7 separate regions of the Homo sapiens genome follow, and regions 2, 3, 4, 5, 6 and 7 are each linked to region 1. Evidence: promoter capture Hi-C in 16 types of primary human blood cells and fetal thymus (Javierre and others, 2016). All regions are on one chromosome and are shown on one strand. Each heading gives the region's core, a stretch centred on a gene start or on the middle of the fragment in contact. The rest is flanking DNA. Distances are from core to core; before and after follow the strand shown.

The links. The method cuts DNA at HindIII sites, captures the fragments that hold promoters and counts their contacts. A CHiCAGO score of 5 or more calls a contact.
Region 2: a fragment that was not itself captured here is called in contact with the fragment with the promoter of NIPSNAP3A in region 1 in 4 of 17 cell types (non-activated CD4 T cells, total B cells, naive CD8 T cells and 1 more); the score reaches 8.7 in non-activated CD4 T cells.
Region 3: the fragment with the promoter of TMEM246-AS1 here is called in contact with the fragment with the promoter of NIPSNAP3A in region 1 in 5 of 17 cell types (total CD4 T cells, M0 macrophages, naive CD4 T cells and 2 more); the score reaches 8.8 in total CD4 T cells.
Region 4: a fragment that was not itself captured here is called in contact with the fragment with the promoter of NIPSNAP3A in region 1 in 2 of 17 cell types (naive CD8 T cells and total CD8 T cells); the score reaches 6.8 in naive CD8 T cells.
Region 5: a fragment that was not itself captured here is called in contact with the fragment with the promoter of NIPSNAP3A in region 1 in 14 of 17 cell types (total CD4 T cells, activated CD4 T cells, naive CD8 T cells and 11 more); the score reaches 34.4 in total CD4 T cells.
Region 6: a contact is called between a fragment that was not itself captured here and the fragment with the promoter of NIPSNAP3A in region 1, in 11 of 17 cell types (total CD4 T cells, non-activated CD4 T cells, total CD8 T cells and 8 more). The highest score is 21.0, in total CD4 T cells.
Region 7: a contact is called between a fragment that was not itself captured here and the fragment with the promoter of NIPSNAP3A in region 1, in 12 of 17 cell types (M0 macrophages, monocytes, M2 macrophages and 9 more). The highest score is 27.7, in M0 macrophages.

Annotation. Positions count from the first base shown.
Region 1 is chr9:104,746,017-104,750,016 of GRCh38, reverse strand. It overlaps NIPSNAP3A (nipsnap homolog 3A), which reads right to left and starts at 2,334. Exons shown (of 6, transcript NM_015469.3): 1 at 2,165-2,334. The coding sequence starts at 2,224. LOC107987105 (a long non-coding RNA gene) reads left to right here and starts at 2,378. Exons shown (of 5, transcript XR_007061705.1): 1 at 2,378-2,568. RefSeq lists an enhancer at 1,771-1,930 and a silencer at 2,351-2,440. The HindIII fragment of the contact is 7,745 bases long and covers 1-4,000 here.
Region 2 is chr9:101,450,232-101,454,231 of GRCh38, reverse strand. The region is part of intron 2 of LOC105376184 (a long non-coding RNA gene); the gene reads right to left. Among named protein-coding and RNA genes, the nearest start is that of TMEM246-AS1, 16 kb to the left of the region's middle. The HindIII fragment of the contact is 6,251 bases long and covers 1-4,000 here.
Region 3 is chr9:101,466,699-101,470,698 of GRCh38, reverse strand. TMEM246-AS1 (TMEM246 antisense RNA 1) reads right to left here and starts at 2,260. Exons shown (of 3, transcript NR_121576.1): 1 at 2,091-2,260. The HindIII fragment of the contact is 1,016 bases long and covers 1,251-2,266 here.
Region 4 is chr9:101,518,868-101,522,867 of GRCh38, reverse strand. It overlaps a transcript of PGAP4 not described here. Among named protein-coding and RNA genes, the nearest start is that of RNF20, 13 kb to the left of the region's middle. The HindIII fragment of the contact is 5,520 bases long and covers 1-4,000 here.
Region 5 is chr9:101,543,796-101,547,795 of GRCh38, reverse strand. It overlaps RNF20 (ring finger protein 20), which reads right to left. Exons shown (of 20, transcript NM_019592.7): 6 at 2,911-3,029; 7 at 830-976; 8 at 582-659; 9 at 278-397. Among named protein-coding and RNA genes, the nearest start is that of RNF20, 12 kb to the right of the region's middle. The HindIII fragment of the contact is 3,124 bases long and covers 458-3,581 here.
Region 6 is chr9:101,560,978-101,564,977 of GRCh38, reverse strand. RNF20 (ring finger protein 20) reads right to left here. Exons shown (of 20, transcript NM_019592.7): 18 at 3,748-3,888; 19 at 2,967-3,068; 20 at 1,634-2,732. The coding sequence ends at 2,556. Among named protein-coding and RNA genes, the nearest start is that of RNF20, 29 kb to the right of the region's middle. The HindIII fragment of the contact is 1,266 bases long and covers 1,664-2,929 here.
Region 7 is chr9:101,578,041-101,582,040 of GRCh38, reverse strand. It overlaps GRIN3A (glutamate ionotropic receptor NMDA type subunit 3A), which reads left to right. Exons shown (of 9, transcript NM_133445.3): 7 at 2,681-2,845. Among named protein-coding and RNA genes, the nearest start is that of PPP3R2, 15 kb to the left of the region's middle. The HindIII fragment of the contact is 3,086 bases long and covers 218-3,303 here.

The sequences.
Region 1 (4,000 bases), core at 1,085-3,584:
ATTAGGACTGGAATGTAACTAATGCAATAAAAAGCTCTGACCTATCCAATTGCATTGTAATATAATGGTAGAACATGAATGCTGAGAAAAGAAAATTCAGAGTCAAAATTTTCTTATTAGTTTCTAATTACAGATGCAATGTGAACAACATTTAATGAATCCACTTATACCACATTGATGAAAATATCACTTAAGAACCATTAATTCCTTTTGTAATAGTCATACACGCACTGTAAATTTCTAATTTGTGTTCTGGTTGAACTTTCTGTAAGAAATACCTCGCCTAAGATTATCCTCTATGTAGGTATCTATGTGTATATATGTATACACATACACACACACATACGCACACACACATATATATATGCACTCATGGTATACACACAGGCATTCGTGATATTCTTATAAATCCATCTTACTTAAGTTTGAATAGCATGTGCCATTTCCTTAAGTTGATTACACCAGAATAATCTGTGAAGACAGTTTTGATACCTACAAAGCTATGGACAAATTAGGGCTTATACTGACTAGCCAGTATGTCTGTCTGAAAGCAGTAGGCTTTTGCTCCGACATATTTTTGTTTACAAAATACAAAATTATGTAACTGTGTATGATAAGGCTTAATGATAATTATCTAGAGTTAATTCTATTCGTGTGTGACTTATATTCTTATTGCTCAAATGACTAAGCCTACCAACAAAAACAGCTGCAGCTGCCCCTGCCTTTTGTGGACACTCTTTTTGTGCTTTTAAACCAAACTCTAGTAACAATGTTGGTCAAGAAGCAAGTGCCTAGTATCCATAATTTCAAAATTATTATAATAAAATATATCAGGAGATAGGCCAATGGGGCATTTGTGACAAATGGATTTCAGGTTGATTCGAGGAATTTGTATTTGGAGGATAAAATAGTTGATCAAAGGTACACATTTTTACAATTTTGGGCAGTATTAATATACAGTAGGGAACCTACAGTGAGAGAGGGAGAGAGATGTGGACAGGTGGTGCCAGAGAAGGAAGACTGCAGGGGAGCCGGGTATGGTGGGGGAGCCGGATGGGAGTTAAGAATTTTGTTGCAGGGATGACTTTTAGCTGCTAGGGCAGAAATCATGAGTCGTCCATCCTCCCTTATCTCCAAGTTAGGGATCATTCCCACCAGCAACGACCTCCACTTCACTTAAAAGAGAACAACTGATGGACATTTCTAAAAACTTAAAGTTTGGAATCATGCCATAAGGACGTCATTCCTGGCCCTGCCCCACTGGAGAATCATTAGGGTAAAAACTGCATTGTTAACCCGGGGTGAATGGACATGAGCTGCTCTTCTTTAGTGCTCCTCAGTCTGTCTCTAGGACAGGTTAATCCCCTTCCCATCCTGCCCCTTCAGAAAGGAGTAAAGTCCTAAACATCAAAAGGAAAAGAAATTTCTAGGTTGAAGCCACAGAATAGGCCACTCCCGAAAGTTAGGGCAGAATCACAAGCTCCATTTTGTCCATTTCTCATCTAAGGTTAAAAGAGTCTGTCTGTCATCGTCCGGTTTGATAGGAGGCTCCGGTCCCGCCTGGTTGGGGGAGCGACCACACGAAGCGCGGGTGGCGGGCAGGGTCCAGCCCCACCGGGACCCTGGGCCTCCTCTTCAAGGGTCTCCGCGAAATGCTCGGAAGTTGTGTGCTTCATTTAAAAGGGGGAGGCCGGTTCCGTGGCAAGCGGCTGGTTGACAATTCCCTCCTTCAACCTGATGTCTAGAGAGGGCGGTGGCTTGGAAAGCTACGACTCCACCCGCGGCTCCACAGCGCCAGGTGACAACATGGGAGCGCTCGCTGGGCCGCAGCCGCGACATAGCTGGGCAGCAAAAACGAAACAGCCGGCGCCATGGGAGTGTCCCGGTGGGTGTGGCATCCAGGCTAGAAAAGCCTTCTGACCACCACTGCCCGCGAGACGACCCCGGCTGGGGGTATTCCCCTAGCAGCGGCCTCCTCCTCACGCGCGTTCCGGGTACCCCTGTCTTGGGGTTCCGGGGCTCACGCTAGAACCTCACCGGGGCCCCAGGTCTGGGCGCGCGTGGCGGAGAGCGCATGCGCATTGCTCGCACGTACCCGGAACACTCCCCGCCCCGCCCCTCCCCTCCCGTCGGGTGAAGGCTTGGGTACCCCCGTGGCCGGTACCTGAGGCGCCAGCGTCCGTGAGGCCAGCGCCCGAGTCAGGGCGCTTCTGAGGACGAGCATGGCGCGGCTTCGGCGCTGAGAAAAGCAGCCAGCCGTGTCCTTTCTGAGACTCCTCTGAAGGTTTCCCGAGTGGAAAGGAGCGGCTCCTGGATCATTGGCAGACGCAGGCTGGGGCGGGGCTCGGCGGGGTCAGCTCCACCCCGGCGCGGGAGGCGCGGCGGGTCCCGTAGCTTGGTGTCTTTCTCTGCTGTGCTGAGCGTTGGTTCCCCCTTGGTTTCCTGAAACGTTCTTACCCCAAACGTTAGAGGTGACGTTAGGATTAACTGAAGGCTCGGATCGTTCCTGCTTCAACTTTCTGGGCCCTCACTCACCTCATTCGCTCCAGTGCTCAGTTGTGTAGATTGGTAAATGTGCAGGGGTTGTGGGTGTGTTGACCATGGGGAAAGAAGGAGAGGTGTTGAGTGCGTGCATGTGCAGTGCTTTGTATTTAAAATCGTGGAGGTTTTTTCCGAGTTAAGTTTTAGATGTTGTGATAGACGTGTATTTGAGCCTGACCTCTCTGCAATGAATGTGTTCTCCATCTTAGAAGGCTCCTAATTAAGATTTAGATTAAATTTTCCACGAGCTCAGAGAAATGGCAGCATCGAGCCTGAAATGAAAAAGTCAAAGTTAAACATACCCTGGTCTAGTCCTCCCAGTCCGGGAGTGTTGGTTCCCAGAGTAACCACCTTCAACATTTCAAGCTGTTTCATTTAATGCTTGTTTCTGTATTTTTAAGTAAGTAGTGTTTTCTGCTGTTTATTGCATTTTCAGTTATGGATAGTATGTGTTGACTTCCTTCTGTGGCAGATGAGGATTTATGTCTCATAGATGCCACTGCCCCCAAATTCACTTGTCTTCCTGCATCTAATAATGCTTATGTTAATTTACAGTAATTAATTACACTATTAATTTACAGTAATCTATATTAATGTTTACATTATTCTTGCTAATAATTACATTATTGTAAACATTAATGTAATATTGCTTACATCATGAGGACTAGGGAGGGATTGCAGGGCCATGACCTGGGTTGTATTGGTTGTGCCTTGTGGAAGAGCTTTGGAATTGTCTGTTCAAAGGAAGGGAGACTTTTTAAAATTAGTTATTTCGGAAGGGTTGCCTCAGTTTTTCTAGAAGAGAGACATCTATTTGTAACCATGCAAGACTAAAAAAATCATTTGTATCAGGACTGGATCTATATGAGTAAATTATTTTCTTAGACCTTTTTTTTTAAACCCTGTAATTGCCAATCCATTTACTTATTCAACAGATATTTACTAAATTCCTTCCATGTTCCAGGCACTTTTCCAGAAACTGGGGTACAGAATTGAGCAAAATTCAAAGTCCCGTCCTCTTGGAACATCCAGGATGGAGGAAACAGATAAAAAAAGGAAGAGTAAATATATCAGGGATTGTCAAATAATATAAAGAAAAATAAAGTAAGATACGAATAAAGGTGCTAGTGGAATTCTAAAAGTGGTCAGGATTCTAGCTATTGACTTGGATATTTAGGATTTAGGTTTCTTCATACCACTCCCTCAAAATACACTTTCCTTCCTGCGTTTATTGATGTTTACATTAAAAATATATTTTGGAGTGAGAAAAACATGTTAAAAGCACTGTAAGCACAGGTGAATCTCTTCAAATAGTGGGCTTCACTGTGAGGTGATCTGACCTGGGTATTTCACTGAAGGCTGTATCCCCTCCCCCCAAACTGTTATCTGCAAGTTATTTATCTGTGTAGTCAGTGTTAGGGAAGGGAAACTTCCAGTATCTTATCTGTGTGAGAAAAGC
Region 2 (4,000 bases), core at 1,353-3,852, 3.3 Mb after region 1:
ATATATATCTTAGAATATTATAGACCTATTAAAAATTACATTCTCAGATATGGTTTTTCTATGATTATGTCATAGGAAAATGCTCAAGATGTAATGGAACACAAAAAAGCAGAATGCAAAACCCTACATATAATGCAATTTAGTGGCATTTTTTCAACTATGGGGGTAGTGTCTGGGTTTATCCAGGGATCAAAAGGACAAGACTACAGGCCTCACAGGGTAAATTTCTCATGACATATGGTTTGAACTACAGCCCTGCAGCATCATATCTGGATTTTATTTATAGGCTCAGAACAGATACATTTCTCAGAGTGAATCATCTTAACCAGGGTCATAAGATAAAAACATAGATCCAGAAGACTAGTTATTCATTTACAATGAGGTATAATAGTGACATAAACTGTATGTGTGTGTGTGTATATATGTGTGTGTGAGTGTGTGTGTGTGTATTAGTCCATTTTCACACTGCTGATAAAGACATACCCCAAACTGGGCAATTTACAGAAGAAAGAGGTTTATTGGACTTATATTTCTACATGGCTGGGGAGGCCTCACAATTATGGCAGAAGGTAAAAGGATGTCTCACATGGCAGCAGACAAGAGAAGAAAGAACTTGTGCAGAGAAATTCCCCTTTTTAAACTATCAGATCTTGTGAGACTTATTCACTGTCACAAGAACAGCATGCGAAAGACTTGCCCCCATGATTCAATTACCTCCTAACAGGTCCCTCCCACAACACATGGAAATTCAAGATGAGATTTGGGTGGGGATGCAGCCAAACCATATCATTCCACCCTGACCCCTCCCAAGTCTCATGTCCTCACATTTCAAAACCAATCATGCCTTCCCAACAGTCCTCCAAAGTCTTAACTCACTTCAGCATTAACTCAAAAGTCCATAGTTCAAAGTCTCATCTGAAACAAGGCAAATCTCTTCTGCCTATGAGCCTGTAAAATCAAAAGCAAGTTAGTTACTTCCTAGATACAATGGGGATACAGGCATTGGGTACATACAGCCATTCCAAACTGGCCAAAACATTGGGGCTACAGGCCCCATGCAAGTCCGAAATCCAGCAGGTCAGTCAAATCTTAAAGCTCCAAAATGATCTCCTTTGACTTCATGTCTCACATCTGGGTCAAACTAATGTAAGAGATGAGTTCCCATGGTCTTGGGCAACTCTGCCCCTGTAGCTTTGCAGGGTACAGCCTCCCTCCTGGCTGCCTTCATTGGCTGATGTTGAATGTCTGCAGTTTTTCCAGGCGCACTGTGCAAGCTGTCAGTGGATCTACCATTATGGGGTCTGGAGGATGGTGGCCCTTTCTCACAGCTCCACTTGAGCTGTCCAGTAGGGACTCTGTATGGGGACTCTGACCCCACATTTCCCTTCTGCACTGCCCTAGCAGAGGTTCTCCATGAGGGCCCCACCCCTGCCACAAACTTCTGCCTGGGCATCCAGGCATTTCTATACATCTTTTGAAATCTAGGCAGAGGTTCCCAAACCCCAATTCTTCACTTCTATGCACCTGCAGGCTCAACACCACATGGAAACTGCCAAGGCTTGTGGCTTCCAAAGTCTGAGGCAACAGCCCAAGCTGTACATTGTCCCCTTTTAGCCATGGATGGAGTGGCTAGAATGCAGGGTACCAAGTCCCTAGGCTGCACAGGGCAGGGGGGACCTGGACCCAGCCAATGAAACCAACTTTTCTTCCTAGGCCTCCCGACCTGTGATGGGAGGGGCTGCCGTGAAGACCTCTGACATGCCCTTGAGACATTTCCCCTTTGTCTTGGTGATTAACATTTGGCTCCTTGTTACTTATGCAAATTTCTGCAGCTGGCTTGAATTTCTCCTCAGAAAATGGGATTTTCTTTTCTATCACATTATCAGGCTGCAAATTTTCTGAACCTCTATGCCCTGTTTCCCTTTTAAAACCGAATGCCTTTAACATTACCCTAGTCACCTCTTGCATGCTTTGCTGCTTATAAATTTCTTCTGCCAGATACCCTAAATCATCTCTCTCAAGTTCAAAGTTCCATGAATCTCTAGGGCAGGGGAAAAATGCTGCTAGTCACTTTGCTAAAACATAACAAGAGTCACCTTTGCTCCAGTTCTCAAAAAGTTCTTCATGTCCATCTGAGACCACCTTAGCCTGGATTTCATTGTCCATATCATTACCAGCATTTTTGTCAAAGCCATTCGACAAGTCTCTAGGGAGTTCCACACTTTCCCACATTTTCTTGTCTTTTCTGCGCCCTCCAAAGTGTTCCAATCTCTGCCTGTTACCCAGTTCCAAAGTCATTTCCACATTTTCAGGTATGTTTTCAGCAGCGCCCCACTCTACTGGTATCAATTTACTGTATTAGTTCATTTTCACACTGCTGATAAAGACATACCCGAGACTGGGTAATTTATACAAGAAAGCGGTTTAATGGACTTACAGTTCCACGTGGCTGGAGACGCCTCACAATCATGGCAGAAGGCAAGGAGGAGCAAGTCACATCTTACATGGATGGCAGAAGGCAAACAGAGAGCTTGTGCAGGAAAACTGCCCCTTAGATAACCATCAGATATCATGAGACTTATTTGCACTATGAGAGCAGCATGGGAAAGACCTGCCCCCATGATTCAATTATCTCCCATCAGGTCCTTCCCACTTGTGGGAATTCAAGAGGAGATTTGGGGGGGGACACAGCCAAAACATATCTGTGTGTGTGTGTGTGTGTATATCTATGTACATATATATATCATCTCATGTATATGATATATAGAGATGATAATACAGCTTGGCCAAGGAAATTTCAGTCCAGCAAAAAGATAGATGGTTTTATTCTTAAGGAATTTTCCAAGAGGATTTTTTGAGAAAAGCAGCCAGAGTGAGACAACAACTACATTTCTTAGAGGGTCTTAAGTTCTCTCTGTAAAGAATTACAGACAAATGGAGGCATAGAGTTTCCATGTCCTCCAGCTGTTTTCAGGAGCCCTGGTGCAGCTTGTGAGCAGAAATACTAGTGTTGGCTTCAATTTCCTGTGGAAAAGAGATGTGATGTGGCACAGGGAAGGAGTACCGAAAATAATCTGTTCTAAAGACTTATCTGGGTGACCTTTGGAAGAGACGAAAGGGAGGGCGTGAGATAGTGAGAGACTCTGGAGTATTTATGGAGTGAAAAATCAAAGAAAAGTGGGTATAAAGAAGTGTTACTCTGTTTATGAATCTGATCTTTGTTAACGTCCCTTGAGAAACACAAATATGCTTTTAAATTATTTTTTCATTACTTTGATTACATGACTTTGCATGTGTTCATGGCAGGACTGAATTCCATGGGACCTTGGTTTATAATCAAGTAATATTCCAAGGATACAAATGATATAAAGTAATTAATGATATCAAAATCTTCATATTAGCAGTGAAAAACAAAAAAATTATTTGTAATGGCCCCAAAGACTTTGATAATACTCAACATCTGTTCTTTTTTTTTCTTTTTGACAGATAAAACATTTAAAATATATATAGCCACTGAAAAAAAATTATTAAGTACCCTTAAGACGGCAGTCTTCAAGCTGGGAGTGGTGGCCTGAGCCTGTAGTCCTAGCTACTCCAGAGCCTGATGCAAGAGGGTCACTCACAGGAGTTTGGGGCTGTAGTGCACAATGACTGTGTTTGTGAACAGCCACTGTACTCCAACCTGAGCAACATAGCAAGCCCCCATCTCTAAAAAAAAAAAAAACCAAAACAAAACAAAAACAAAAAAACCTGCATTCTTCTCAAAAATAATTTTGAGAGACCATATACACTTTCGCATTGTAAATGAGTATCTATGTTCTATTATAAATGTAAATAATTCCAAAGGATGTCATATCCAGTATGTTTTAACATTGGTGACCCTTTTAAGTACAAATCATGGAATCTTAAACAAGATAATGATTAAATACCCATTAAAGAAAATTACATGTTAAAGTTCAGAACATTTACATTATTCGGTTCCATATCCCTCACAGAACTT
Region 3 (4,000 bases), core at 1,011-3,510, 3.3 Mb after region 1:
ATTAACCAGTTTTCAAGTCAACCAGTCTGTGTAGATTTATTTCCAGGAATGTGTTTGTGCAATGCCTCTTGTCCTTCTCAACCATACCCTTCTCCAGCCCCAGTGTATCCAGAATCCATGGCCAATTTGAGTTCAGCAAAAATTTGGCTTCCATTTAGCTCCCCCTCCAAATAAGTTTATAAAAGAGGAGGCAGGATTTCATCTCCTTTCTGGATTGTACACATAGAATACATCTAAATTTTTAAGCTATATATTGTAAAAAATGGTGTGTGTCTGTATCACATTCAAAATCTAGTTCATGTATTATTCTGCAAGGAAATACATCAAACAAATTAATCATGAGTAAACCTAAATTTAGCAGTTTATCCTTATCTTAATGAATACCTAAATCCTGTTTGTGATATTGACTCAAACGACTCAAGCTTTCTCCTTTTTAATCTCGTTGAACCTTTAGCTGAAACGCCCCAATCTGCAGAAACACATTTCCATGTTTGAATCAGGAAAGGCTTGGAAGAGATTAGAATGACATTATATTTCATTTTACCAGTTAATACCACAGGAAGAACTATTTCAGCCAAACTAACCCTTTCTTGTCACACTTAAACATTAACCTCAACCCTAAGGTAGACACATACTAAAATTCAGAATTGCATCCCTGGAGGCCTTTAGGACAAATTAATTTTTGTTCTGTAAAAGGCACCACGTGTCATGTTTCATATCAATTTACATTTATTGAGTGCCTACTGAGTGACAGGTGCTGTGCTCAGTGCTGGAGACTCAAAGGTGAGTGAATAAGACATGCTTTCTTCCTTTCAGAACCATGGCCCCCAGTGAGGGAGTTAGCAACATGATGTAAGTCCTGAGATGGGAGGATCACACAGTGCTGTCTGTAAATTGCCCCAAAGCACTGAGACTCTAAGTTATCCCAACTTCCTTAACTTCTCTGCAACCTCTTTTGCTGAGGACAACATGATCCAACAAAAATGTCTCCTACTAACAAAGAGAATGTTTGACACAAACACTTATTTTCAGAAACAATTGTTTCCCAAAGCACTTGGCTTGTCCAAAGATGACTTACCTTGTTGGCAGCCCCTTGCCATACCTGTCTCAAAAAACAAATCAAGCTGAACCCAGTTTCATTGTCCACCCCTCCTTGCTGACAGAAGCTTGCTGATCTGCAAATGGAGAGAGGACTGGGAAGGTCACAACTTGTCCTTGCTCCCTCAAGGTAAGTGTCATCCCTTAAAGCTTGCCTGCTGCCTCATTGCCTTTCCCAAGTCTTGTGCCAAGTTGGTGCTTCTCATATCATAACTTCACTATAGCTGATTGCGAGTTGGATCTGGTCTCCTGGAGTTCCTCTCACAGAATGACTAGAGCTCACCCATCACATGATGTGAGAGTGCCCTTCTTTGAACCCTGAAGAGTTTTTAACCGAAGACCACATATTTCTTCCACCTGTTCTTGTCAGTGTTTCCATAGGGAACCACAGGCCTGAAAAGACACATTCCTTACTTTTAAAAATTAATTTGTTTAGACAACCCACACTGGTATTGGTCAGAGTCCTCAGACTGGCTCTGAGGATAGCTGACTAAGCTGCTGCTCCAAAATGCTGGAATATGTCATAATTCACAACCATTGTTCATAACTGTTTGACTACCCTAAACCTTACCTTCAAGGATTCTCTTATCTGAATGAACTAAGCAGAATAAACCGAACAATAAGAGTAGGGCTTGAAATCCAATTCTTAACTAATTAGAAAGCATGTATGGGCTAAGAGTTTCTTACCCCTTGCCAGGAGGGAAATGGGGAAATTTGATTTATATGTGAAAATTCTGCTTTTCAGCTTTCACTTGCCAAAGATAGGACAACTCAAATGAAAAGAAAAAATGGTGTTATCCATTTATTTTCCCAAAAGAGATGTTTGCAATGCTTTTTTACATTCTCTTCATACATGGGCAGAGTTTGTGCTGTAAATTTTGCAAGTTGGTTTCAGTGCAAGAGACAGTTACAGCATTAGGATGCATTCAGTGGCAAGTAACAGAATCTAGTCTCCCAGGGGCTTAAGCAATGATGACATTTAATTTTCTCACCTGGCAAGAGGTCTGGAGAAGGCAGTTGCAGCAGTGCAATGAAGTCATCTAGGACCCAGATTCTGTCTGCTCTTCTGTTCTGCCATCTTTTGCCACCTCAGCTACTGCAGCTTCAAATATCGTGTCCTCACAGAGCTGCATTCAATGGGAGTAGGAAGGGGCTGGGATAAAAAGCTTTCTCTTGTAAAGTTCTTTTGTTGTTGTTTTGTTTGTTTCCCTCCTTCCAGGAAGAGCAGTTTCAGGAAGTCTCCCAGCAGACCTCTCCTTTTGCTTCATAGGGCCAGAAATAGGCCACATGCCCACTCCTAGACCAATCACAGGCAAAGGAAAACAGAACAAGCCCAGTTGCAATTAATTCTCTTGGGGCTTGGATAGGGGCCCATCTTCTATGATCTCACTGGCTCCCTACCCACCATCTAAACAAGATGGGGCTTTTGTTGGCTAGGAAGAAGAGGCACATAGATAGCTCTTGGGTAAAATGTGAACAGCAACTGCCCTGTTGCTGGGGGAAGTGATCAAGATTTTTAATATCCTTTCTGCTCATGCCATTTTATTTAGAAATTGAAGTAACATGGAGATTTATTTTAATATAGTCATATAGTTAAGTTAGGCACATTACTGAAAATATATTCTAGCTGCTACAAGATTAATTGTTTGAAGATATCAAAGGGCTTTGAGAGGCATAGCTTCTTAGATTCCTGGCGGCCCATTAGATTGCATTTTCTTTCTCATACGATAGGACATCTGAACAGCTGAACATGAAACATCATGGAAACAATAAGATCATTGTTGCTACTTTCAAGGAAATACAGATAATCAAATTCAGATTGGACATGGGATTGACCAGATAGCAACGGAAGCTTGTGCTTATTTTCAACCTATTGTGGAATTGTCTTGAATTGATGATTTGGGGCCCATGAAGAGCTTTTTATTTTTTTGAAAATAAATTCACAATTTTAGAAAGTAGTCATATGGATTTTGATGTATAGTATAAACCATGCTGTAAATTTCTGAAGCTCTTTTTGGCATGCAAATGTTAATACATCTGCATCAGAAAGTATTTTCCTGTCTGTATTCAGTTTCAAGAAGAAAAACCATGATAATGAAATTAAATTATTTTCTCCAAAAAAACACAGTATCCCAGAAAAGATATAGGGGGGTCTGACATGAATCCCAGGAGATCCTGAAATTTCTAGAGATTTGAGCAATGTGTGACCCTTTACTCTTCAAGAAAGGAATAAGGATGAAGACAGGAACTAAAATCATTCCTGCCAACTAGAAACAGAATTGTGACCTCTCCCTAATGAAATCGATCCCACAGCTCAGTTAGCACCTAAAGACACCATGTGTCGCCAGTCTTTGGATGTAAGCAGTCATGTTAAGATTAAATAATGCAGAGTTTCCTTTGTTGATAACACTCTTTCTCAAGCCCCAAAAGTCCTACTAAATATTTCTGGGAGTCTGCAAAAAGCTACCTTACATGTATGTATGCACAAAGAAGTCTGCTAGCTGCAGTCATTACAGAGCATCGATTTTATCTTTCCTTTCCTGTTCTGGCTCCACACTGCCTTGCAAAGTAACTGGAAAGGCCTCTCTTTTACCCCCACTTATAGTAGCTATTTTGAAACCACCAGTGCCTATGCCAGGGGTACTATTTTTTAATGCTTCCCCAAATATCAGTTCTCCAGGCTGTGGTAGACTGGTGCAGCAAGACCCAGTGTCTTCTCAGTGGCTTACCATGATAAAAGTTTATTTCTTGCTGACACAAAATCTAACAGAGATCTGGGCAACCCTTTAGGACAGCTGTTTTCCATGAAGCCTCCCTGGTCAACTAAGCAGGTTTAAATTGATAACTTGATGGTGGTTACTCACTAGCTCTTTGCTTCAGGCTGCAAATGCTGGAACTAATC
Region 4 (4,000 bases), core at 1,075-3,574, 3.2 Mb after region 1:
CCTGGAAACACAACAAAACAGAACTTCTTTAAAGCATAAATTACACAGGACCTATAAAACAAAAATACAAGTTAAAAAGCAAAAACAAAACACACAAAGTACTCAGGCAACAAAAACATGATAAATGCAACAGTACCTCACATTTCAATACTAACATTGAATGTAAGTAATGCTCCACTTAAAAGATACAGAACTGCAGAATGGATAAGAACTCACCAACCAACTATCTGCTGCCTTCAGGAGACTCAACTTACACATAACGACTCACATAAACTTAAAGTAAAGACGTGGAAAAAAGGCATTTCTTGCAAATGGAAAGCAAAAGTGAGCAGGGGTAGCTATTCTTATATCAGACAAAACAAACTTTAAAGCAACAGCAATTAAAAGAAACAATGAGGGACATTATATAATGGTAAAAGGCCTTGTCCAACAGGAAAATATCACAATCTTAAACATATATGCACCTAACACTGGAGCTTCCAAATTTATAAAACAATTACTAATAGACCTAAGAAATGAAACACACAGCAACATAATAATAGTAGGGGACTTCAATACTCCACTGACAGCACTAGACAGGTCATCAAGACAGAAAGTCAACAAAGAAACAATGGATTTAAACTATACCTAGGAACAAATGGACTTAAAAGATATATACAGAACATTTCATCCAACAATCGGAGAATATGCATTCTATTCAACAGTGCATGGAACTTTCTCCAAGACAGACTATATGATAGACCATAAAATGAGCCCCAGTAAATTTAAGAAAATTGAAATTATATCAAGCACTCTCTTGGACCACAGTGGAATAAAACTGAACATCGACTCCAAAAGGAACCTTTGAAACAATGCAAATACATGGAAATTAAATTACCTGCCCCTGAATGAGCATTGGGTCAAAAATGAAATCAAGATGGAAATTTAAAAATTATTTGAAATGAAGGACAATAATGACACAATCTATCAAAACCTCTGGGATCCAGCAAAGGCAATGGTAAGGGGAAATTTCATAGCCCTAAATACCTACATCAAAAAGATCAAAAGAGTGCAAACAGACACTCTGAGGTCATACCTCAAGGAACTAAGAAACAAGAACAAACCAAACCCAAACCCAGCAGAAGAAAGGAAATAACCAAGATCAGAGTAGAACTAAATGAAATTGAAACAAACAAACAAAAAATACAAAAGATAAATGAAACAAAAAGCTAGTTCTTTGAAAGATAAATAAAATTGATAGACCATTGGCAAGAATAACCAAGAAATGAAGAGAAGATCCAAATAACCTCACTCAGAAATGAAACAGGAGATATTACAACTGACACCACTGAAATACAAAAGATCATTCAAGGCTACTATGAACACCTTTATGCACATAAACTGGAAAACCTAGAAAAGATGGGTAGATTCCTGGAAAAATACAGCCCTCCTAGCTTAAATCAGAAAGAATTAGAAACCCTGAACAGACCAATAACAAGCAGCAAGATTGAAATGGTAATATAAAAATCACCAACAAAAAAAAGTCCAGGACCACATGGATTCACAGCAGAATTCTACCAGGCATTCAAAGAATTGGCACCAATCCTTTTGACACTATTCCACAAGATAAAGAAGGAACCTCCCCTAATTCATTTTATGAAGCCAGCATCACCCTAATACCAAAACTAGGAAAGGACACAACCAAAAAAGAAAACTACAGACTGATATCCTTGATGAATACAGACACTAAAATCCTTCACAAAATAGTAGCTAACCCAATCCAACAACGTATCAAAAAGATAATCCACCATGATCAAATGGGTTTCATACCAGGGATGCAGGGATGGTTTAACATGCAGAAGTCAATAAATGTGATACACAACATAAACAGAATTAAAAACAAAAATCACATGATCATCTCAATAGATGCAAAAAAAGTATTCAACAAAATCCAGGATCCCTTTATGACCAAAACCCTAAGCAAAATCAGCACACAAGGGACATACCTTAATGTAATAAAAGCCGTCTGTGACAAACTCACAGCCAACATAATACTGAATGGGGAAAAGTTGAAAGCATTCCCTCTGAGAACTGGAAAATGTCAAGGATGCCCACTCTCACCACTCCTCTTCAACATAGTACTGGAAGTCCTAGCCAGAGAAATCAGACACGAGAAAGAAATAAGGGGCATCCAAATCGGTAAAGAGGAAGTCAAACTGTCACTGTTTGCTGACGATATGATCATTTACCTTGAAAACCCTAAGGACTTCTCCAGAAAGCTCCTAGAACTGATAAAGGAATTCAGCAAAGTTTCTGGATACAACATTAATGTACACAAATAAGTAGCTCTTCTATACACCAACAGTGACCAAGTGGAGAATCACATCAAGGACTCAACCACTTTTACAATAGCTGCAAAAATAAAAATAAAATAAAATACTTAGAAATATACTTAACCAAGGATCCAAAGACCTCTACAAGGAAAATTATAAAACACTGCTGAAAGAAATCATAGATGACATGAACAAATGGAAACACATCCTATGCTCATGTGGATAGAATCAATATTGTGAAAGTGGCCATACTGTCAAAAGCAATCTAACAATTCAATGCAATCCTTATCAAAATAACACCATCATTCTTCACAGAATTAGAAAAACACAATTCTAAAATTCATATGGAACCAAAAAGGAGCTTGTATAGCCAAAGCAAGACTAAGTAAAAAGAACAAATCTGGAGGCATCACACTACCTGATTTCAAACTATAAGGCCATAGTCACCAAAACAGCACGGCACTGGTACAAAAATAGGCACATAGACCAGTGGAACAGAATAAAGAATCCAGAAATAAAGCCAAATACAGTCAACTTATCTTCAACAAAGCAAACAAAACATAAAAGCAGGGAAAGGACACTCTATTCAACAAATGGTGCTGGGATAATTGGCTAGCCACATGTAGGAGAATGAAACTGGATCCTCATCTCTCACCTCATACAAAATCAACCCAAGATGGATTAAGCTCTTAAACCTAAGACCTGAAACCATAAAAATTCTAGAAGATAACATTGGAAAAACCCTTCTAGACATTGGCTTAAGGAAGGATTTCATGACCAAGAACCCAAAAGCAAATGCAATAAAAACAAAGATAAATAGCTGGGACCTAAACTTATAATTTTATATATATATGTGTGTGTCTGTGTGTGTATATATATGTATGTGTGTATATATATATGTATGTATATATATACATACATATACATATATATAGTAAATAATAAATTAAAGAGCTTTTGCACAGCAAAAGGAACAGTCAGCAAAGTAAGCAGACCACCCACAGAGTGGGAGAAAATCTTCACAATCTGTACTTCTGACAAAGGATATCCAGAATCTACAACGAACTCAAACAAATCAGTAAGAAACAAACAAACATGGCCAGGAATGGTGGCACATGCCTGTAATCCTAGCACTTTGGGAGGGGGAGGCAGGTGGATTGCCTGAGCTCAAGAGTTCAAGACCAGCCTGGGCAACACAGTGAAACCCCGTCTCGACTAACATACAAAAAAATTAGCTGGGCATGGCAGTGTGCACCTGTAATCCCAGCTACTCAGGAGGCTGAGGCAGGAGAATCGCTTGAACCCAGGAGGTGGAGGTTGCAGTGAGCGGAGATTGCACCATTGCACTCCAGCCTGGGTGACAGAGCAAGACTCCATCTAAAAACAAAACAAAACAAAACCAAACAAAAGTGGGCCAAGGACATGAATAGGCAATTCTCAAAAGAAGATATACAAATGGCCAATAAACATATGAAAAAGTGTTCACATCACTAATGATCAGGGAAATGCAAATCAAAACCACAATGTGATACCACCTCACTCCTGCAAGAATGGCCATAATCAAAAAATCAAAAAAACAGTAGATGTTGACGTGGATGTAGTGAACAGGGAACACTTCTACACTGCTGGTGGGAATGTAAACTAGTACAGCCACTGTGGAAAACAGTGTGGAGATTCCTTAAAGAACT
Region 5 (4,000 bases), core at 770-3,269, 3.2 Mb after region 1:
AGCGAGCATCTTTATCCTGTTCCTGATCTTAAAGGAAAAGCTTTCAACTTTTCGCCATTGGGTATAATGTTGGCTGTGGGCTTGTTTTATATGGCCTTTATTATGTTGAGGTACACTTCTTTACACCTAATTTGTTAAGAGTTTTATCATAAAAGGATGTTGGATTTTGTCTACATTTTTCTTATCCCTCATGAATACGCAGATTCACAACTATGTATATACGTGAGTTGATCAGCAGAACGTCTGATTTTACTGCCCTTCAGGGATGCGTTCCTACCTTCAGCTTTTCATTTTGTGTAGTGACCTCCTCAAAGTCTTGCCGAAGTTTCTCCAGCTCACAGAGACGGTTCTGAGCCAACTCTTTGTTCTCCTCAAGCTCTGCATTCATTTCCTCAAACTGCAGAGAAGCAGAAAAATAGAGAATAAATAAGTATTCTTCTTAAATCATTTCTAAGCTTCCTTTCTTCACTGATTCGCTATTCCAGCAAAACCCCATGATGTCACTTGTGAACACAGTCCTAAGTACCTAAGCATGAAAGCTGACATACAGTCCAAAACATGTCCTGAGTCACTGATTTTACCTTCCGAGCATTGATAGTGATTGTGCCGCCATACAGACTGCTCCCCGCTCCATACACCTTATAACCTTTGGAATTCACCTACAGAGAACACAAAGATTCTTTAGTGAGAGACTCTTAAGATTTCAGTCTATAACCAATGTACCTTCAAAGGATGAGATTTTTTCCTCAAATACCATGCCCCAAGGTGAGTCTTCCTGAGAACACTCCTTAAAATGATTCTAGTCTCCAAGCCATAAAACAGCACTGACCCGTTCTAGGACTTCTGCTAAGTGTCGGTTGAGTCGCTGTTCCCTCTTTCGAATTTTGTCAATATCCCACTGCAGGTCATCAATCATGGACTCCAGGACAGACACTCGTGATTCGGCTGTCTCCACTTTACTCTGCAACTTGGAGAACTACATCCCAAAGACAAACATTCAGAAACATATAGCAAAAAAAGACCAAATTCCATAATATTAACCCTTGCTTATGAGTAATTATAGAAAAGAGGCAAATAGAAGATGCTTCACCCTCTTCCCAATGCATGATTACAAAAATGAAATCACGGATTCCTCCAACAATTCTGTGTCAGTTATAATCATGCAAACTTTAAGTCTAAAGTCTATAAGAACTCTCACACAAAGAAAAGACCACCTAAGATTCAACAATTTTTCTACCTCTGAAAAGCACCATTTCTCTGGACAGACCACAAACTCATAAAAATTTTGTAATTTTTTAAGAGATAATAAATAGTATCTTTTGTTTTGTAAGATAAATATTTTTTCAAAAAAACCATTTTTACCCCCAAATTTCTCTCCACAGTCCCACAAAAGGTAATCCATTCATTCACAACAAAAGAAAACTTCCATACTCTTTTTTAAGCTCACCCCAGAGCAATCTAGAGTCAGATACAATACAGTATAGATTATACTATAATCTAAAGTCAGATACTCTATTTAGGAGCTATACACCAGCTAACACTATTTAGTATTTTAACTACTAAACTATTACAAGTTCACATTAATCTATATATACCCTTTGTGCTAGGTTTTAAAACATGACACAAAAATCCTTTGAAAGTCCTCTGAACAAGAGGTGGGATCTTTGTTCCCTCCTCTTGAATCTGGGTCAACTTTAGAGACCCAATGGAAATGTCACTACACAATTTTGAGGCTATATCAGAAAGGCCATGAAGGTTCTACCTGGTGATCTTGGGATGCTCACTGGAAGAAGTCAGCCAACATGTAAAAATTCCAACCATCCTGAGACTACCATGATGGAGAGGCAAACTGCAGGTATCCCAGTAGACAATTAACCCAGCTGACAGGCAGCATCAACAGCCAGCCATGAGAGCCAACAAGGACATCACAGTTTAGCAAACAACTGCCCTCCAGGTTAGTAATACTATCTGAGATTTGTCAAAGGGCTAGAAAAGGAAGACCTCTCCATCTTGGTAGCACCTAGTCAATGTCTTAAAACATGATAAAAATATTCTATTTTCTTACTAGACTCCAGTTTATTTATAAGGGCTACTACATTCTAACCCCTTTGAAGGTCCAGGATAATCCATATGAATTAATAAATTCCCCAGATGATATTCATGCAACCAGGCCAGCATGGACCTTAACACTGGGGTTTAGTAAACAAAGGCATATGAAGAACAAGAGCTTTGAAGTCAAACAGACCTACAGTCACAACACAGCTCAATCACTTTCTAGCTATGTGCCCTCAGAATAATCACTAACCTCTTTGAATTTGTTTCTTTGGCAATAAAATGGGAGTTGTTTTGCCATTAGAGATAACATTCATAAAGTGCTTAAATTCTAGGCACTAAGTAAATGGCAACTACTAAATTACTAATTAGCATAAGAATTCAGTGGCCAAACTAAGGTGGGGCAAATTCCAGTAGAATATATTTTGAACTAAATCAAAATGATCATCAGAAGTATCAGAAAAGTCATTTAAGGCCTATCATCACTTTATCTTGATCATTTTGTGTAAATAAATAAATGTCCAAATCTTGGCATGGTTTAATCATGGCATTATTTGCACCCAAGTTTAGACTGAAAATTGACATTCCTCAAATTCCTAGGACATCATCAATACAGTAGTTTCTACTTCCCCATTCCCTGTGGAATTTCTACCACGCCATTCCTCAATAACACTATACAGTCTTTTATATTTAGGGTAATTCATTATTTGGAGGTTTGGAGTTGTGTTGTGTTTTACAAAATCCCCTATGATATGATAGGCCTTCTAGAGTAAGGTAATCTTTGAGGTGCTCAGAATTGTAAGTCAACATCTGCCACAGCCCACTAGACACAGCCATCTCTCCTTTTTGGTTAAGTACCTCCTGAGACATGGTGCGATGCTTTTCCTGAAGAAGATCTGTCAATTCCTGTAGCCTCATATTCTCCTGTGCGAGGAAAGAGTTCAGCTCCTGCACTGCTTCCTCCACTATCAGATTATCTGGGGAAGAAGAACTATACTTTAATTTAGCATCTAGAGTGTCATTTTTTTTTTTTTTTTAAGACGGAGTCTTGCTCTATCGCCCAGGCTGGAGTACAGTGGCGCGATCTCGGCTCACTGCAACCTCTGCCTCCAGGGTTCGAGCCGATTCTCCTGCCTCAGCCTCCAGAGTAGCTGGGATTACAGGCACATGCCACCACACCCGGATGATTTTTGTATTTTTAGTAGAGATGGGGTTTCACCATGTCGGACAGGCTGGTCTCAAACTCCTGACCTCAGGTGATCCACCCACCTCAGCCTCCCAAAGTGCTGGGATTACAGGTGTGAGCCACCGTGCCTGGCCTATAGTGTCAAATTTTAAAACTGTGTATCCTTGGCCAGGTATAGCAGCTCACGCTGTAATCCTAGCACCTTGGGAAGCCAAGGCAGGCCGATCACTTGAGGCCAGGAGTTCAAGACCAGCCTGAATAACAAAGCAAGAATCATATGCTCTTATCACATATTCTCATATCATATATTCTGAAATACTATGTTAGGGGCACTTCTGAAGCTTAAAAACCAAAATGTACACTACTATTTACAAAGCAGGTAGGTAAATCCATAGAACTTATTACACCAAGTTCGTATGTTTAAAATTAGAGTTGCAAATACTATAGCTGAAATCCAAATGTAATTAAATGAAACCAGATACTCTCAGGATATATACCACCCATCAAAGAGAGTTATCAGGAAGAAAAATATGCTTTCTCATATCACCTCTTGGCATTACTCTTAGTATCAATACAGAACAGGTTGGTCATATGGTGGTTTTCATGGTTTTCAAGCTAGGCTTGCCCATCAGAATCACTTGTGGAACTTTTAAAATAGACATTTCCCTAGGACCTATCTCATACCTACTTAATAAGAACCTCCATGGGCAAAGCCAAAAATAAGAATATGCTCAGAAAACTCCCAAGGTTATTCTGATTCAT
Region 6 (4,000 bases), core at 1,047-3,546, 3.2 Mb after region 1:
AGCCTCCCAAACTGCTGGGATTATAGGCGTGAGCCACTGCACCCAGCCTGAAGTGTTTTTAAGAAATGAGAAGCCTCTAGGACTTCTATAATAATCTTTGAAATTGGCATTTATAAGCATTACCTTAAAGAAATTACCCTTTAAAGTTCATATGGATCAAGGGCTGTGATTGCTAACTAGGATCCAAAAAAGCTATGAATAATGTACATACAATACAAATAAAATTTGGTATGCAGTTTGGGAGTATTCCTAAAGCGCATTCATTGACCTCTTCTGTAGTGAGAGAAGCCAACTGCCAAAAAATCACCATCATTTTTGGTTGTTATCTGAAAATGACTGTGAGAGCTCAACTTGTGTTGCCAGGACCTCAAGCCAGTTGGGATCAGGGGCTCCCTGCTCATCTCAACTAGAGGAACTTCCTCTAAATCCAACTTCCCATGGGGCTAGTGGTTTCCTCCACAACATTCCACAGGCCCTATGGTCCCCTGGTGCTGGGCAGCTGGCTTTCTCAGCCAATTGTCACAAACAGCCAACAGCCAAGCCCAAACCACCTGTTGACCAAGCAGTATATCTGCACCCAACCAACAAAGTTATGCTCAAGCTTACCCTATAAGAAGAGCAAGAAGCAAGGGGAAAGTGTCCTATTACTAAATGAAAACTCACTGTGTCCAGAAGCAGGAGCTAATCCTGTCATGATGGTTCTGTGGGGGTGGGGGTGTTTGCTGAGCAGGGGGATCAAGGGACCCATGACCTCTCTTGATGACCTAGTAAGATTCTTCAATTAGACTCATTGCTTAATTCATACCACATGACTTTGTGGAATTCAGTGCAAATCCTGCTGATTATAGCTGGTGACCACAGAAAGACACAGAATTTGCTCTTACCTGTCTTCTAGGACAGGTGGTGATCAAGAAGGATCCATTTTACACAACCCCTTGCCAGAGATTTATGAAACCTCTGGTTTGCTGGTTATTATAAAACATAATGCAGCTGGGCATGGTGGCTCACACCTGTAATCAAAACACTTTGGGAGGCCAAGGAAGGTGGATCACCTGAAGTCAGGAGTTTGAGACCAGCCTGGCCAACATGGTAAAACCCCATCTCTGCTAAAAATACAAAAATTAGCTGGACATGGTGGTGAGCACCTGTAATCCCAGCTATTCGGGAGGCTGAGGCAGGAGAATTGCTTGGACCCAGGAGGCGGAGGTGGCAGTAAGCCAAGATTGTGCCACTGCACTCCAGCCTGGGCGACAAGAGCAAAACTCCATCTCAAAAAAAAAAAAAAAAAACCCACCACATAATGCAAGAACTCTCACCCTAAAGCTAGAGGCAGCAATATGCTCCCCCAAAAAACAAATTATAGTCTCTTACCCCACCTAATGAACTATGAAAGATAACTGAGTAGTCAAATAAATTAATCTTTTAGGTATAATTTCTCCATAGAATAGACTCAATAAAAGAATTGGGAGAAAAGTGCTTCAATTAAGCAAAGATCTAAATACTCTAAACAAGGCCAACCTCTTAACCTAAGCTGATTATTTCCATGCAAGAAAATTTAATTCTATAACAGCAGATATAAAATCAACTTGTAATAATAAAGACAAAAGTTTCAAAGAAAAACCATAAACACAAATGCAAACTGAATCCTGCTTTAATTCAAGCTTGTGGAGAACAAAGTCCTACAGAAACATTCCACAGAATTTTCTGGAAAAGAGGGATCACAACAACCCTGTAAAAAGGAGACTGAGAGTAATTCATAGCTCACCAAGTTCTCTCCGTATCAAATTTCCAGAATACCCACAAGATTTCTTCACCAGCTCAGTCCTGACTCAACCTCTTCAATCTTTATTTCATTAGAAGACAAAGGGTCATATTATTTAAAATTATTCTAGTCTCAAGAAATTTAAAGACTTGAAGTAGTAGAGCATTCAAAACTTAAATAACTTTAACAAGAAAGCCAGCTGATCTTAACAAGTTACTCTGCTAGTAAATGGGAAATAGACTGAATCATCCTAGACATAATTTCATTAGGGCTGCAAACCACCCAGGGGAGAGTAGCACAATTATACCATTTTGTAATCCACATTCACAAGAAGTTTGCTACACAAATGAAGAAAACTTTGTGCCCATAGACAACTTATTTTTTAAAATATCACTCCCCAAAAGTAGCCATGTTTCCACTTTTGTTCCCTTTTCCACATCAAAAATACCAACTTGATTTCTTCAGGAGGAATGGACAATCCAAGTTTATACAGTGGGCTGGAAAAAGAAAACACTGAAAAGTCTAAAAGCACAAAATAAACAAAGCTGGGAGGGAAGACAGTAAGAGTTATTTGTTTCTAATTCATTCTGAAACCCAAGGCTTGTATTTACCAGTCCTTTCTGCTAAAGTCATCCAGCTACTGAAGAGGAGAGCCTGGAAGTAAAGTCTGGAGGAAAGGTAGTTGACTGATAAACTGTCCTACAGGTGACAGTCAAGGAGAGAAGAGGTAGAGGTTTGGTGGTTAATGAATAAGTTCCTGACTAGCCAGCTCCTCTTCTTCTCTTGACTTAGATCAACCAATGTAGATGCGATGAAAATCATTGGCACCAAAAGCAGCATTACACTTGGGACATTTGCGCTGGCGGGTGTCATAGCGTGTCTTCACACACTCAAAGCAGAAGACATGAAAACACTTAGTAAGAACAGCATCCTTTTTACGCATGTTACAGCACGGACAGGTCAAGCGTGCCTAAAAAGAAAAGATGTCAGAGTTTGAACAACCATGAAAGTTTATGATCCAAATGGCTCTCATATACTACACAACCAAGAAGAAAACCCACAAGGCACTAAAAAAAGAGCATCATTTCCCCCCAACCTCCAAAATAAACCATTCTCTGGTTACTATCATGCAAATTATTCTCCCAGTCTATTAGGCCACTTAAAGCTTTGACAAAAAACTAATCACTAAGGCATTTTTTCTAACCTTGTAATCCTTAATCTCTTCCATCAGAATCTCATCACACTTGGGTACATTGTCTGGTTTCTTTGTGGTCTCCAGCTTCCTGCGAAGTCTAGAGATGTCCTCCTGTGGCAGGATAGCATACCCATTAGACACACTTACCCAAATCTATCATTTTTGAGAAAAATAATAGACTTGAGTTTTCTGTTGTGAAAAGAGGGGACTTTCTATCCTTTTATGGTCAATTATCTTGTAGAAATGTAGAGAACTGCAAATGGCAGGATATTTTCTTTTGTTTCAGAAGAGGCAACCATAATTATATCCCCAAATTAGAATTGCATCTATTACCAATTCAGTCCTGTGAAAACACATCTAAGAGTTTAGAGGACAGTCTATTTTGTTTTATAGTAATTAGTTTTAAGCTGAAGGTAGAACGGTTTAAAATAATTCAGAGACTTACGGATAAAGACAGAAAGACATCATGAGAAACAGCTAGCATGACAAAAATAGAGACATTATACAAGAACTTGAAAATCCTCTACTGCTGCTATGCTGTTACTTCTTTAACAATTTACTAATTCATTAATTTAACAAATATTTATTTTGTGCCTACTAGGTGCAAGGCACCATAAAAGAGTCTGAGGATATGGCAGTGAAGAAAACAGACTTACTCTCTTCCCTCAACAAACTTCCTCAAGTCTAGTAGGAAATGACATACATTGGACTAATGATTCTTTCATGATATGGGTCACTTCCGACCTCAGAAAACACCTAAAAGGTGACAAGAAAAGACAACTGCTTTTACCTGGGCTCGTTTGAAATTGAACATGTCCTTTTCTTTGGTAACACTGTTCTCCACGATCTCATCCTGAAAATCATGTAGCTTCTTCTGAGCCAACTCCAGTTGTGCTTTGAGGTCATCTGCAAGCTGGGCTGCCTCCATTGCCTATGTAGGATGTACAAATAAGTGACACCATTGTATCACCTATTATTGCCAGTGAGGCAAAATGTTAGCCCAAGTTGAAGGAATAAAGCGAACTTACAATCTCAACAGTGTT
Region 7 (4,000 bases), core at 511-3,010, 3.2 Mb after region 1:
CCCAGCTCTAACCTTCACGAGCTATGTGACCTTGGACAAGTTATTGAACTTCTTTGTTGCTCAGTTTCTTCACTTATAAAATGGAGATTATACCAGTATTTACCTTATAAATTGTCATAAAGATAAGGCAAGTTGCTACATTGATAAAGTGCTCAGAATTGTGCCTTACACATATTCAATGCTAAATAATTATAAATGATAATGATGACCAAAAGCTTCCAGCAAAGGGATAACACCCAGGCTCCTTAGTACGGCATCTGAGGATTTGCCTAGTGTGGCCCTGTTTCTCTCTCACTGCATATCTTTGTCCATGTGTGCCATTATAACAAAATACCCGAGACTGGGTACTTTATAAAGAAGAGAAGTGTATTCCCCACAGTTCTGGAGGCTGGAAGTTCAAGATCAAAGCACCACCAAGTTTATTGTCTTAGTAAGGGCCCAGTCTCTGCTTCCAAGATGGCATCTTGTTGCTTGTCCTCCACAGGGGACAAATGATGTGTCCTCCCATGGTGAAAGGCTGGAAGGGCAACAAAAGGGACTAGCTAGCTTCCTCAAGCCCTTTTATAAGGGCACTCATCCCTTCATAAGGGCTCTTAATACCAACCCTTGGAGTTTAGGTTTAAACATATGAGTTTGAGAGGGACATATACATTCAAACTATGGCACTATTCATGCCTTGTATACTTTTCCTTCAGCCACAGCAGTCAGTTTCACAACACTATACCACTGTCCAGGAAAGTCATGTCTTTTTTCCTTTGTTTATGCTACCCTCAGGTTAGTATGTTCACTTTCCCCACCCAACCTCCCCATCCTGCCTGTCTTATTCAAATGTTATCTCATGAACCAGCTTCCCCACAAATCCCAGGAAGCATGGATCAAATGTATCATGGAGGTATATGTTTGTTTTCTCCCTAGACTCAAGCTGTTTAAAAGGAAAGATATAACTTCCTTCTATCTCTATCCCATGATACGCAGAAGAGTGCCTGGCACCTAGTATTAACTCAATATATTATGTATTTTTACTTCTACGGGATTGACTCTTGTCATTGATGTCAATGGCTAAATAATGGCTGTTTTAGAGTACATGTGAGGGTTTTCTTAATCTACACAAATCACTTAGCAAAGTGCTGGCCACAGATATTTATTGTAACTACTATTGTTGCTATAACTGCTGCTGTTTTGGTATATAGCAGTAGAGCAGAAAGAGCCCAGGCTTTGGAGCTGAACAGAAATGGACTGAAAGACCAACTTTGCCACTTAAAAGTTGCAGTAACTCCACTTTCCTTAGTTATAAAATAGACGTTATATATCTATTTTAATGTAAAACACTTGGCAGAAAGTAAGCAACCAATAAATATCATTAAGTTCCTTCTCTTTCTCTTCTATGCCTTTTTTGTGGCTTGGCTCGGTTTACTACACTTCTCTGGTCTCACTTTCCTCCTCTGTAAATGAACTAGATGATTTCCATGTTCCCTACCAGATCCAAATTCCAAAGTTACTGAACTCACCATCTTTTTCCCCTTAAATCTACTCATTCTCTTCCCTGAGGGACGTTCTTTCCTTGACAGCTACCAGGTATATTAAATTGTTTCAATTCTCTATCTCTATCTCTCTCAATCTCTAAGAGACCATAAGGTGGTCCAGACCCAGGGCCTTGGCACAACTCCAGGGGCCATTTGCACAGTGGATTAACATACGAATAGCGCCTGTCAACTGAAGAATCATGAGCTTCATAAATTTGGCCAGGAGATCTTTAGTTCTCATAAAGGGTTGCAGCCAGCAGGCCAGCCATCCTGCAGAATGGGAAGCATAGCCTCAGCAGAAGCTGAGAGCAAGCACTTCAAGGGAGGGGTAAAAGGGAACAGGAATTTATGCTGAGTGGGGTGGCTGAGTATACGTATTGAGTAAGCTATAGGAGGAGTCATAAATATTTATGAAAAGAGATACATGCACATGTGCAGTTGAGCTTCATGCCTCTTCCTGGGCCCATGTTCAAAAAATGGTGGTGTTAGCATGACCCGAGGGTGGAGATTTTGGTCTTCTGATGTCCAAATGTGAAGCAGAGGACATGAAAACCCTCACTATGCATCCCCCACAAGTTGGCCAAAACCATCTGGAGATTGTGGTCATTTTTTAGGAAGGGTGCATTGGGAAACTGGTGAGCTGTCACACTGAAACTGCAAAGAGGGAGGGAGAATCTGGTTATGGCCTTAGATGATTAGCTAAAGGTGATAAAGCAATGAGTTATCGGTTTCTTGTTTTCCAGAGCTAGCTTTTGCTTACTTCTTAAGAATGAATTATGGCTAAAGGTTAATAAGGAAGGGACAACTGAGGCATGACAGACCTCCCATCCAATCAAGGCCAGGAACTCAGTTTTTAAGGTTTCTTCGGGGTCCCCATGGACAAGAGAAAGTTCGTTCAGTCGGTTGGAGAGCTTTTAATTTTATTTTTATTTCTCACCCTCTAGGCATTGGGTGCTCCTCGGCAGCCCTCAGTCCAACCCTGGCTGAATTTCTTTCATGATGTATAATGAAGGTCACAGAACACACAGGGAGAAATAGTCTCCAGCTGTCCTTGAGTCCAGAAAAAATGAATATCCATCTGAAAACCAAAGAGTACACAAGCATTGGGCCAGGTATATCATTGTATTCATGGCCTTTTCTTTCCTATTCTGTCACAGACTTTGCAAATGGGCATCAAACACTTCTCTGGGCTCTTTGTGCTGCTGTGCATTGGATTTGGTCTGTCCATTTTGACCACCATTGGTGAGCACATAGTATACAGGCTGCTGCTACCACGAATCAAAAACAAATCCAAGCTGCAATACTGGCTCCACACCAGCCAGGTGAGTGCCACAGGTGTCTTGCTCCAATATTCTTAAACTGTACAATTCCTAGGGATGGGAGGATCCAGAGCCCTATGTCAGACTACTAAGTTATGTTACCACAATAACGAGGGTGGGGTAGGCACTCTCATTAGAGCAGAAGGAATTCTCTCTATCCCATTAATTCACTTTTCCCTTAAATTAAGGCATCCCACAGTGCTCCTTCCTTTCCTATAACCCTCCACTGTTGTTCATAATAGAAGAAATAGAACTTTTTTAACCAGGTTTCACTTAATAGTGACAGTCTGAAAAGATGGTGTGAAAGATTTATTTCCTAGGTTCTTTTCTTGCCAAAATTGAAACCTATTACGTGAGTTTAAAGTCCCTGGTCCCCTTTAAGTGACCCCACTTGCCCCTGTTCTCTCTGCTTTTTCCCTGGTCCAGAGGGGTTTGAGACCCATTGGGGCCAAGGCCAAGCTTCACAAGGCCGCAGTTCTCTCCTGTTACCTAGACATCAACGCACTGATTTACAGGGAGAACTGAAACTGTCAAGCAGACTGGTGACTCAAGCACACTCGTTTGCATATCTCTCCCTGAATGAAATTGGCATGGAGACCCAAAATATAGTCAGAAGGCTTCATAATGATGGAAGAACTCTAACAAAGGGAGTGGTTTCACTTGACCACAGCAAGGCTGGATGAGCCATCCTGGCCTCTCCTGTGGTGAGACCACCTCCTGCCCTCCAGTGTACCATGGATTACCTCCCAGCAGGGAGGCTGTCACTTCTGCATTTACCCTATTCATGTATTCATATACCCTCATACTAAACTCCTCACTTTGGTAACACTTTTTTTTTTTCTAGATAGGTTACTATCATTGGTTTGGTTACAGTTGAACCCTGTTCTTCCTACTTTTATCCTGGGAAGTATTTGGTCTTCTAGGAGAACTCCACAGATCTTCCTTATTGTATGCTAATATGATTAACTTAATTCTCAAGAGTCCTCCTTCCCTTCTTTGTTTTGGTTGTCAATTAATTATATACTTTTTACTCATCTTTAGCAATTATGGAAGGCCTTTTGCTACACATTAGTTATGATTGTGCCTCCTTATATCACATACCGTTTTATAATACTGAGCTTTCCATCAGAACACTTTTTTGTTTCTCCAGGTGGAATA